Linked DNA regions of Homo sapiens: regions 2 and 3 are each linked to region 1. The links are contacts of gene promoters, found by promoter capture Hi-C in human tissues and cell types (Jung and others, 2019). All regions are on one chromosome and are shown on one strand. The core of a region is centred on a gene start or on the middle of the fragment in contact, and the rest is flanking DNA. Distances in the headings are between cores, read along the strand shown.

Region 1 (3,864 bases), core at 1,126-3,625:
TCCTTTATCCTAATTCATGTGGTTGGAAGTCGGGGTTGAGGCAGGGGTGGAGGAATGCTCTTTGTCTTGGCAGAGTGCAGGTTACATGCGTGTGATCACTCAGTGGCCCCTCCTGAGTGTGGCAGGTGCATTCTCTGTGTGCTACTGGTCAGTAAGGATGTGGCTGCCTGGATCTGTGTGACCTCTAGTCCCTGCACCTTCCTGCCTGTACCCTGTTAGCTTTGGGTCACAATTCTGCGCTCCTGCAGCGCTTGCAATCCCTTCCCAAACGCTGTTTGCCTGTGTGTTGTTTTGTTTCGAGACAGGGTCTCATCCTGTGGCCCATGGCGCAATCTCAGCTCACTACAACCTCCACCTCCCAGCTTCAAGCTATTCTCCCACCTCTGCCTCCCCAGTAGCTGGGACTACAGGTGTGGGCCACCATGCCTGGCTAATTTTTTTTTTCAAAGTCAGGGTTTTGCCATGTGGCCCAGGCTGGTCTCAAACTCCTGGCCTCAAGAGATCCTCCTTCCTCGGCCTCCCAGAGTGCTGGGATTACAAGCGTGAGCCCTCACTCCTGGCCTGTGTATTTTTAATATACCTGAACATCCATTCTCTCTGTGTGTTTTATTTAACAGCCTCCCTTAGTCACCTGCAAAGTCTTTTCCTTGGGAGACTGTTTCCTCAACCCTGCTGCTCTGGGGCCAAGCCCTGGCTCACTCCTTTTTATTGAAACCTGTGCCATGGAGATAATAGGGGTAGAGAGATCCCTTCTGTGGCAGCCACTGACACACTACAGCTTCGAGGTGGCACATCCCCCTCTCCTGAAGTCCCCTCACCTCCCTGGCGATGAAGTCCCACCCCTGATGGGAGGTGGTGTCAGGAGGCCTTCAGGTGGTCAGGCCAGGAGGGCTCCACCCTGAGGAATGGGACCAGTGCCCTCATAAAACAGACCCCGGAGAGCTCTCCCCAGCCCCTAGCGTGGGGAGATACAGGGAGAGAACTGTCTGCAACCCCGAAGCGGCCCTCACCAGACACAGAGTCGGCCAGGCCTTGGCCTCGGGACACCGGAACCGTTAGAACTGAAGGCTTCTGTGTGAGCCCCCAGGCTGTGGAGTTTTTTGTCATGGCAGCCCCAGGGGGTCACTAGGCTCCCACTTGATTCCAACTCAGCGTGAAGTCACAGCCCTGAGTGCCTTCTGCCTGGGTGCCAGCCCCGGAGCCGGGGAGCGGGGGAGCGGGGGGCGGGGAGGGGAGTGGTGGTGTGCGGGGAGTGCGGGGCGGGCGCAGGGGGTGGGGCACCGCGCTGCGGGCGGGTACTGCGGAGTCAGGCACCAAGGGTCCCTGCCTCCCTCACTGCTGAGCGCGGGCTGCAGGCTGGAATGGCTGGAGAGCCCCAGGGCTCGCCTGGACGCCCAGGGCAGGGTGCTCACGGGAGCATCGAGGGTACACGGGGAGGAACGCCGGGGTTCGGGCGACCCTAGGGGCGACGCACAGAGCTGGGCGCGGCCACTCACCTCGGTGCCTTCTAAGGACCTGGACATCCTGGGCCTTGGCGGCCTGGGGGCTCCATTCCTCCGCGCGCTGAATGGAAGAAATCCCGCCCGGGCATCTCGGAAGGAAAGCCTCGGAGTCCATTCGGCCCTGGAGCCGGATACCAACCGCCAGGGCTTTCCAGGCCCGTCCCGGGAAATGGTTTTCTTAGGCGAGTGCGAGGCGGGCCCCTCGGTTCCGATGCAGGCGCACTAGATGCCGGCAAGGCGGGGACTAGGCCTAGGGGACCTCGGTCGCCTCGAGGTCGCGGAGACCCCAAGGCCACGGAAGGACCCGCGTCTCCGCAGCCCGCACGCCGGGAAGCGTGCAGAGTCCTCGGCGGGGTCCCGAGCCCGCTGGTCAGAGCGTGGAGCGGCGGGGTGGGAGGGACGTGGTCCCCAGAGCGCGGGGCCACCGTAGGGGCCCCTGATGGGGAGGGAGGGAAGGGTCGGCCCGACGGGGTCCCAGCAGTTCCCCGCGCGCAGCCGCTCGGCTCCCTCCCCGTCCAGCTGGGAGCCGCCAGCCCTGGGCGTCCGAAGATAGCGGGTGCCCGGGGCAGCCCCCAGGGGTGCGGGCGAGGGCGCAGGGCGGCCCAGACAGTTCCCGCGTGGAAGGCGCCCGTCTAGATCCGCGACGTCTCGGACCCCCAGGCCCCCGCACCCCGTGTCCGAGGCTCCGGGACGCGCAGGACAGTGGAGCCGTGGCCGCCGCTTGCTCCCAGCCATCTGCGTCCGGGAGGCGGGGGCGGGGGCGCGGCCCGGGGAGGTGAGGAGGAGGAGCCAGGACGCGAGGGCGACCCCGTCGGCGGGAGGGCGGGGCGGGGCGGACCCTGTCTACTGGATAAGAGCCCGAGGCCGAGGCTGAGACCGCCCAGCGCTGCGGAGCGGGAGGGGAGGCTTCGCGGAACGCTCTCGGCGCCAGGACTCGCGTGCAAAGCCCAGGCCCGGGCGGCCAGGTGAGGCCAGCGTCGCTCGCGGCATCGGGGCGCCCCGCTCCTTCCGCAGACCCCGAAGTGGGGCGCAGGGGCGGGGGCCGGGGACCGGGCACAGTCTGGGGTCCCCGCGTCCCGCAGACCGCGCCGTCTCCAAAGTCGCCAACAGTCGCGGGTGCCGAGCGCCCCCCGATAGCGCCACATGGGACCCTGAGGCCGTCCGAGGCGCGAGGAGGGTGCAGGGCTGCCCCTGGCCCCGCTCCAGGCTCAGAACCGGGTGGGCACCTGGTGCAGTCACCGGCTTAGGGGACGCGTGGGTGTCTATGGCTGTGACTCGGGGGTCCTGGTTTCTTCTCGTGGAACTTAACCCTACTAGGGGTGCGGCGCATCCCAGATCCGATCGGAGTGGGTTTTGTACACCGCCGCTCCATCTCGCGGGGGCTTTGTCTGTGTTGGGGGTGGTGGCGGGCGCGGGCTGCGCGCTGGTGCTCTGGGCAGGGCGGGGAGGCCGGGCGAGGACTCGCCAGGCAGCGCCGCTTCTTGTTCTGGGCGCGGTGAGGAAGGACGCTTTCTAACGGGCCACATTTTGCTGTGTAGACCCAAAACTCGCCTCTGAGGCCCCGCGTTCAGGAGCGGGGTCAGGTGGCCCCAGGGCGGCGGCGGCTTGCCGGAGACTCGCGAGCTCCGCACCCGACGCCCTCTCCCAACGCGGCCTCCTGCTCGCGCCGCGGAACCCCTTCGTCGGGTGTTTTACCCACCGGAGGGGTCGTGCCGGTTGAGGTTGTCACCGGGTGCGTGGCATAGCTCGTGATAGCTCATGGGTGAGGTTTTGTGCAAACTTGGATGCAGGGAAAGTTGCCTGTTAGAGCCTCCACCTGCGACCTGCTTCAGTCGTTGTGTGTGTGTGCGCACCTGTGTGAGTGTGAGTGTGTATGTGTGTAAGTGTATGTGCTCGCCTGTGTGTGTGTGAGTGTGTATGTGTGTTTGTGAGTCTGTGTGTGTCTGTGTGTCTGTGTGTGCGTGCGCTCGACTGAAACACGCTGCTGCTGGATCCAAATGACAGAAGTCGCCCTGGCTGGGGCGGTGTAGACGCTCCTGCTCTCCTGCTCAGCGTTGCAGGGGGGTTTATGTAGCCGTTTGGACAGGATTTCCCGGGTTACCCTGCTGGCCCAGGAGCTAGTTCCCGCGATGAAGCCCTGTCCATCCTCCGCCCAGCTCTCTCACGCGGGGTGGTGCCACCTGCCCTAGGTGGATGTGGCTTGTACAGACACTTTTTGAGGAAGCAGTTGTGATGGTTATGTCTAAACTCTCTTTACAGTGGCTGATTTTGCTTATATAAATTTTGCTCTTTATTACTGAGTATAAACAATACAAGCCCAGGCTTGGTGGCTCATGCCTGTCATCTCAGCACTTTGGGAGGC
Region 2 (3,835 bases), core at 777-3,276, 130 kb after region 1:
CGGGAGGCGGCTCCAGAGGCAGGGCAGATAGTGGGGGCCCGCAGGCAAGTCAGCAGTGGGGGAAAGACAGCAGAAGGCGTGAGGGTCTTCATTGGTGTATGTGAAGGTCACGAGGTCACACGGCCCTGCCCATCACAGGTGCGTCGGTCTGCGGGGAAGTTGAGGCATCAGGGAACAGGAAGTTTTAAACGTTTACAATGGATCTTACCCACACAGGCCGTGCCTTTGCCTGCGGTGTCAGATTACTAGGGCGGGGTGCGGTGGAGGGTGTCCCTTCCACACCTGTGGTTTTATTTGTCTTTGGGGGAGGGGAGCCTTGCTTTATAAAACACAACTGGCTGTGTTCTGTAAGGCTTCACCCAGCACATCCTGTTGGCAGCAGCTAAGCACACAAACGGGAAAGGAGTATCGCCCAACTCCACCGATGAACTCAAAGTGCCTGGCTTTGCCTGGGGGATGCTGGCAAGGTTAGGTGCGGTTCCCAGCGTTTCTTCTGCCTCCTGGGGCACATCCCGCGGTGGGTCAGCGCCTGCGGCCGGCTGCTGCAGAAATAGCGTCATTCGGCCCCTGCATCAGCAGCCAAAGCCGGGCCTAACTGTCAGGAGCTCCGTGGATAGCTTTGCTGCTCTCGCTTTTCAGTTTCAGTATCAAAAATAGTTGCTACAAGAACTGATTTTTGTCATAGCACCTGCTCTTCCATTTGGGCTGGCGTGCTGAGCAAAGGTGGGTGCAGGCGCCTCATCAGCCTGACAGCAGAGTCAGCTTAACCTGAGTTTTCAGGAAGCACCGTGGCAGGCCCCCAAAAGGGGCAGATGTCCACCGTGCACTGCGTCTGCTTCTGCAGTCGGCCCTCCAGTGCCGTTTTCTTTCACCTGCAAAGGGCCTTAATGCGTGAACCAGCTGCTGGTGACTGTTAGTCTTGCTCTGTTTAAACAGTAGCAAGTTGCAGAGTGTTCCTTTGAAGACACCGCAAGTCACGTGTGTCAGTTACTCCTGAGAGGTTTCTGGGGCGCCTGCCTCTCCTTTCTTTAAGATGAGCAGAGGTTTAAAAAAAAATGAGTTTGGGGAATGAGCCTTGAAAGTCCTTCCAGCTTCAGGACCGGCACTTGCTCTGACAGTCTGACTTCTGCCCTGTGGGCCGGCGCTCCTGCAAATGGGCAGTGTTTCAAGAGAGGACTGAGCCTCATGCAGATCCATCTCATGGGAACCCTGAAGCTTCACTGACCAACAGAGGCTCCACCTGGGCGACTTGAAACATGCTTAAAGGGTTTATCTGTCATTCATCCCGATGAGTTTAGTTCTGTTTTCCTCTTGGATTTCATTGATATTTCTGCATACCATCAAAGCCCTGTCTTATGATTGATCATGAGGTGGGACTTAGAAATGCGCTAAGTACCTGTGGATTTTAGACTGTGTCAAAGCCCTCGAAGCTGAAACAGAGGACTGACAAGGTGAGGGCCCGGGGTCCCCCACGGTGGAACTGCAGTGTCCTGATCGCAGCTGGTGGGCTCCGTACCTGGGCAGGATGGGCTCTACTGGAGCAGCCAGTGTCCAGAAGGAGCTTCTGTCTCTACCCCTTGGCACTGGCCACTCATTTTATAGAAGAGATTTTCTTTAGACCAGAGTTTATTAGAAAGCCAAGGAAAATGAGAACACGTCCCCCTGTGAAGTACCTGCCACACATAGCCCTGTTGAAGCCAGTTTGGTGGCTGTTGGGTCTTTGGCAACGAGATCAGTCTGTTGGCCTCGGCCCCGGTAAGCCCCACAGGCCAGGGGTCTGGAGGAAGGATGGGGTGCAGCCTGCGATAGGTGAGGCTACGGAACCCTGACGAAGCAGGGGCTGTGTTCGAGGAGTGATCCATGCGGAGGAGGGAAACCAGGAGGAGGTCTTGGCGTATACCACACTGCTTACCCCTTTCCTGAAGCAGGCACAGGACCCAAGGGGGTGTGGCGCCCTGTGGCCCACCATGCTTTCAGAGCAGCAGCCTCTGCAGAGACACTGGTCCCAGAAAAGCCACCGCCTGAGTGTCCCCCAGCCACGGCCACCATCCCCACAGCTTTCATGCTTCAAGCAGCATATTTGTTCTCTGATGGTTCTGGAGGCCAGGAGTCCAGACCAGACCTCCCTGCGCGGCCACTGGGGTGTGGGCAGGCCCTGCCCTCCAGGGGCTCCAGGTGCTCCGTTCCTCGTGCTCTCCACCTCGAGAGCTGTGCTCCTTGCATTCCCGGGCTTGTGGCCTTCTTCGCCTCACCCTAACCTTTGCCTCCGTGGTCATATCCCTGATTCTCACCCCGACCCTCTGTGGTTACATCAGTCCCAGACGATTACCCAGCATCATCTCCCATCCAAGATCCAAGTGTGATGGTGGCCACCGAGTCCACTCTGGCACGTGGGATCACATCCGCGGTTCTGGGGCTGAACCGGGATGTCTGGGGGGACATGCCCACCTCCCCCTCATCCTGCCATTTCCCTTGTTGAACCTTCAGTGTGATGTCCCAGTGGCTTCTGTCCTGCTGGCTGGACTCAGCTGGTGCACTGAGAGGCAGACACTTTTTTTTTTTTTTTTTTTTTGAGACGGAGTCTCGTTCTGTCACCCAGGCTGGCACTGCAACCTCTGCCACCCGGGTTCAAGCGATTCTCCTGCCTCAGCCTCTCGAGTAGCTGGGGTTACAGACATCTGCCACCACGCCCGGCTCATTTTTGTATTTTTAGTAGAGATGGGGTTTCACTATGTTGCCAGGCTGGTATTGAACTCCTGACCTCACGTGATCTGCCCGCCTTGGCCTCCCAACGTGCTGGGATTACAGGCATGAGTTGCTGCACCAGGCCGGCAGGCACTTTTAAAAAACTTGTTGCTATACAATTTCCACACAGTGTCATGGCAGATGCACCCCGTGCAGCTCAACAAGCCCTGCATGCTTCCAGACTCCAGCACCAAGCACCCGAGTCAGGCTACAGACAGACCCCGGCCCCACGGGGCCCTCTCAGTGGAAACCAGGCGGGTGAACCCAGCCCATGGGTCACCGGGTCCAAGTCCCACACATGAACAGTCATGCTGGGAGCTCTGGTACCCAGGTTCTCGGGCTGGGCTCTGTCTGGCGTCCATCTGTGTTGTCGCAAGCGGTGCTCATTGTGACTTTCTTCCATGTGGCATTCCATGGCACGAACCGGGGCCGTTACGGATCAAATCATGCACGTGGCTGTGCCTGCCTTTGGGCACAGACCCAGGGGGGACATGGCTGTTGTGGTGCATGTGTGCTGAGCTCCAGTACATGTCACCCGTGTTCTAAGGGGTCTGTGCCACTCTGGCTGTGCACTGTGGCATGTGAGCCCCATGGCATCACCCCTTCTCCAGCACACAATGCTGCTGTCTAATTTTAGCCACTCTGGTGGGTGTGTAGTGGAGCCTTTTCGCGGTTTAAATGTGCATTTCCCTGCTGACTAGCGGCGTTGAAAACCCTTTGTATCCTCACCAACCCTCTGGGTGGCTTCTCTTTGTGTTTTCTGTTTCCTGTTCCCTCCAATCACACCTTGCAGAGCTGATTGTGCAGGGCTGGCTCACTGAAGCTGCCGTGGCCACGGACGGTGAGGCTGAGACCATTTCCTCCTGTCTGTTGTCTAAAATCATCCCCTAAGGCATTTGTGGATGCAACTGATGAAACCGCCTAAGTCTGCGGTTTCCTTTGTGGGATATTTTTTTCACTACTGTTTTAATTTTTGTAACTTCTGTGATAATAATACCATGCAGATTTTCTATTTCCCCTTGATGTTTTATTATATTTTGTTTAAAGAATTTGTCCGTTTGACCTAAAATGACAACTGTCTTTTTTTTTT
Region 3 (4,071 bases), core at 1,219-3,718, 140 kb before region 1:
TGGGTCCCGTTCCAAACCGGAGCGTTTCCGGCTCAGGCCATTCCCTCACCCCTGTACAATGTCTGTTCCCCGCCACAGCCAGTAGTGCCACAGTAGATTTATGCTGCACATTAGCTGTGAGACTTCTGCCTGGGGAACCCCCACCAAAGGTCCCAGCAGGAGTCTGTGGACCCTTGCCAGCGGGGACAATAGGATTACTTTTAGGAAGGTCTAGTTTAAGTTTAAAAGGAGTACAAATACACACAGGAGTCATTGATTCAGATTACAATGGGGAAACTCAAAGTGTTATATCTACTTCTGTTCCCTGGAAAACAGAGCCAAGAGAGCATATAGCACAGCTCCTGATTGTGCCATATGTGGAAATGGGGAAAAGTGAAACTAAACGAACAGGAGGAAGTACAAATATACAAAGCAAAGCAGCTTATTGGGTGAATCAAATTACTGATAAACGTCCTACCTGTGAAATAACTATTCAGGGAAAGAAATTTAAGGTTTGGTAGATGCAGGAGCGGAGATTTCAATCATTTCTCTACAGCACTGGCCATCCGCGTGGCCAATTCAACCTGCTCAATTTAACATAGTTGGAGTTGGTAAAGCCCCTGAAGTATATCAAAGTAGTTATATTTCCATTGTGAAGGGTCCAATGGACAACCTGGGACTATTCAACCAATTATAACTTCTGTACCTATAAATTTATGGGGAAGAGATTTATTACAACAATGGGGAGCACAAGTTCTAATTCCAGAGCAATTATATAGCCCTCAAAGTCAGCATATGATGCATGAAATGGGGTATGTCCCTGGTATGGGACTAGGAAAAAATTTGCAAGGTTTGAAAGAACCACTTCAAGTGGAAAGACAGTTCCTGCCAAGGTTTAGGATATTATTCTTGATGGCAGCCATTGTTAAGCTTCCAGAACCTATACCTTTAAAATGGTTAACATATAAGCCAATTTGGATGGAACAATGGCCGCTGAGTAAAGAGAAACTGGAGGCTTTAGAGGACTTAGTTAATGAACAATTAGAAAAGGGACACATAGCTCCAACATTTTCCCCTTGGAATTCTTCAATTTTCGTAATTAAGAAAAAATCAGGTAAATGGAGAATGTTAACTGACTTAAGAGCCATTAATTCAGTTATACAACCTATGGGGACATTACAGCCAGGATTGCCTTCTCCTGCTATGATTCCAAAAAATTGGCCTTTAATAGTCATAGATTTAAAAGACTGTTTCTTTACTATCCCCTTAGCTGAGCAAGACTGTGAACGGTTTGCATTTACAATTCCTGCAGTAAACAACCTGCAGCCTGCTAAGCGTTTTCATTGGAAAGTGTTGCCACAAGGCACGTTAAACAGTCCAACGATTTGCCGGATTTGTGTAGGGCAAGCAATTGAACCTCCTCGTAAAACATTTTCACTGTGTTACATTATTCATTATATGAATGATATACTTTGTGCTGCCCCTACTCAAGAAATATTACTCCAGTGTTATGATCACTTGCAAAATTCAATTTCTGGTGCTGGTTAAATTATAGCTCCTGACAAAATTCAGATTACTACTCCTTACTCCTACTTGGGAACCTTAGTAAATGACACTACCATTGTGCCACAGAAAGTAGCCATACGTAGGGATCAATTGAAAACATTAAATGACTTTCAAAAATTACTAGGGGACATTAACTGGATACAACCTGCTCTAGGCATTCCTACCTATGCCATGAGTAATCTGTTTTCTATCCTTAGAGGAGATCCTAGTCTCACCAGCCCTCGGTAATTAACAAGAGAAGCTGAGGCAGAGCTGCAGCTAATCGAAAAGCAAGTCCATAAAGCCCAAATAAATAGAATCGATCCAGAGAAGACTCGAGCTGCAGCTGATCGAAAAGCAAGGCCATAAAGCCCAAATAAATAGAAACGATCCAGAGAAGACTCGAGCTGCAGCTGATCGAAAAGCAAGGCCATAAAGCCCAAATAAATAGAAATGATCCAGAGAAGACTCGAGCTGCATCTCATCAAAAAGCAAGGACATAAAGCCCAAATCAATAGAATCGATGCAGAGAAGACTCAAGCTGCAGCTGATCAAAAAGCAAGGCCATAAAGCCCAAATAAATAGAATCGATCCAGAGAAGACTTGAGCTGCAGCTGATCGAAAAGCAAGGCCATAAAGCCCAAATCAATAGAATCGATCCAGAGAAGACTCGAGCTGCAGCTCATTGAAAAGCAAGGCCATAAAGCTCAAATCAATAGAATCGATCCAGAGAAGACTCGAGCTGCAGCTGATCGAAAAACAAGGCCATAAAGCCCAAATAAATAGAATAGATCCAGAGAAGACTCGAGCTGCAGCTGATCAAAAAGCAAGGCCATAAAGCCCAAATAAATGGAATAGATCCAGAGAAGACTCGAGCTGCAGCTGATCGAAAAGCAAGGCCATAAAACTCAAATCAATAGAATAGATGCAGAGAAAACTCGAGCTGCAGCTGATCAAAAAGCAAGGCCATAAAGCCCAAATGAATAGAATTGATCCAGAGAAGACTCGAGCTGCAGCTGATTGAAAAGCAAGGCCATAAAGCCCAAATCAATAGAATAGATCCAGAGAAGACTCGAGATGCAGCTGATCTAAAAGCAAGTCCATAAAGCCCAAATAAATAGAATAGATCCAGAGAAGACTCTAGATTTGCTAATTTTTCCAACTCCACATTCAGCTACTGGTGTTATTGTTCAAGAGCAAGATCTTGTAGAATGGCTTTTTCTTCCACATACTAATTCATGGCCTCTAACTCCTTATTTGGATCAAATTGCTACTATGATAGGAAATGGGAGAACTCGGATTGTTAAATTACATGGATATGATCCTGAAAAAATTGTCCCTCTCACGAAGGCACAAATACAGCAAGATTTTATAAATAGTCTTACTTGGCAAACCCATTTAGCTGACTTTTTGGGTATTCTCGATAATCATTTTCCTAAAATGAAACTGTTTCAATTTTTGAAATTAACTAATTGTATTCTCCCTAAAATAACTAAACCAATTGAACGTGTGGAGAATGTTTTTACAGATGGGTCTAGTAATGGTAAAGCTTCTTACTCTGGCTCGAAAGGTAAAGTTTTCCAGACACCCTATGCTTCAGCTCAAAAAACGGAGCTTGTAGCTGTAATTGAGGTATTGACTGCTTTTAATATGCCTATTAATGTGATTTCTGATTCTTCATATGTGGTTCATTCGACACAATTAATTGAAAATGCTGAGTTACGATTTCATACAGATGAACAACTGATGACTTTATTTATGCAATTGCAAACAGCAGTTAGGAGTAGAATGCACCCTTTTTACATCACTCACATTAGGGCTCATACACCTCTTCCAGGACCTTTGACTGCAGGGAATCAAATGGCTGATCGCCTAGTTGCTACTGCAATATCTAATGCTGGACACTTTCACAATTTAACCCGTGTTAATACCTCTGGTCTCAAACGCAGATACAGCAGTACCTGGAAAGAAGCTAAAGCTATTATCCAGCGATGCCCAACTTGCCAAATGGTACATTCCTCATCTTTTACAGGAGGAGTTAATCCTCGAGGATTGGAACCTAATTCTCAAGCTCTAGCTAAATTTTTCTCTATACGGAATATTAAACACATTACTGATATCCCATATAATTCTGAAGGACAAGCCATAGTGGAAAGAATGAATCTCTCCCTGAAACAGCAGTTGCAGAAGCAAAAGGGGGAAAACAGGTACTACAGGACACCCCATAAGCAATTGAATCGCATTATTAACTTTAAATTTTTTGAGCCTGCCTAAAGGCCGGATCTTATCAGCAGCTGAACAGCATCTACAGAAACCAGCTGCAAAGACAGAAGCAGAACAACTGGTTTGGTGGAGAGACCTGATAACAGAAAGTTGGGAAATAGGTAAAATAATAACTTGGGGTAGAGGTTATGCTTATGTTTCTCCAGGACTGAACCATCAAGACACCTGAAACCTTATCATGAGCGAATGCTGAGGAAGAGATTCCGGGAGGATCCCGAGGACCCCCCCAGTTGCAGCCATGTCAAGACTGATGCTGAGGAGGAC

What was found. Contacts are between HindIII fragments. The study calls those that stand out against the background at their distance.
Region 2: a fragment that was not itself captured here is called in contact with the fragment with the promoter of SLC6A3 in region 1 in 1 of the 25 tissues and cell types used here (lymphoblastoid cells).
Region 3: a fragment that was not itself captured here is called in contact with the fragment with the promoter of SLC6A3 in region 1 in 3 of the 25 tissues and cell types used here (heart left ventricle, small bowel and stomach).

What each region holds. Positions count from the first base shown.
Region 1 is chr5:1,443,951-1,447,814 of GRCh38, reverse strand. SLC6A3 (solute carrier family 6 member 3) reads left to right here and starts at 2,375. Exons shown (of 15, transcript NM_001044.5): 1 at 2,375-2,467. RefSeq lists an enhancer at 1,238-1,737. The HindIII fragment of the contact is 20,714 bases long and covers 1-3,864 here.
Region 2 is chr5:1,312,877-1,316,711 of GRCh38, reverse strand. No RefSeq gene overlaps it. Among named protein-coding and RNA genes, the nearest start is that of MIR4457, 5.4 kb to the right of the region's middle. RefSeq lists enhancers at 1-116, 407-796, 3,615-3,684. The HindIII fragment of the contact is 3,780 bases long and covers 137-3,835 here.
Region 3 is chr5:1,579,367-1,583,437 of GRCh38, reverse strand. It overlaps the pseudogene SDHAP3. Among named protein-coding and RNA genes, the nearest start is that of LPCAT1, 57 kb to the right of the region's middle. The HindIII fragment of the contact is 4,730 bases long and covers 104-4,071 here.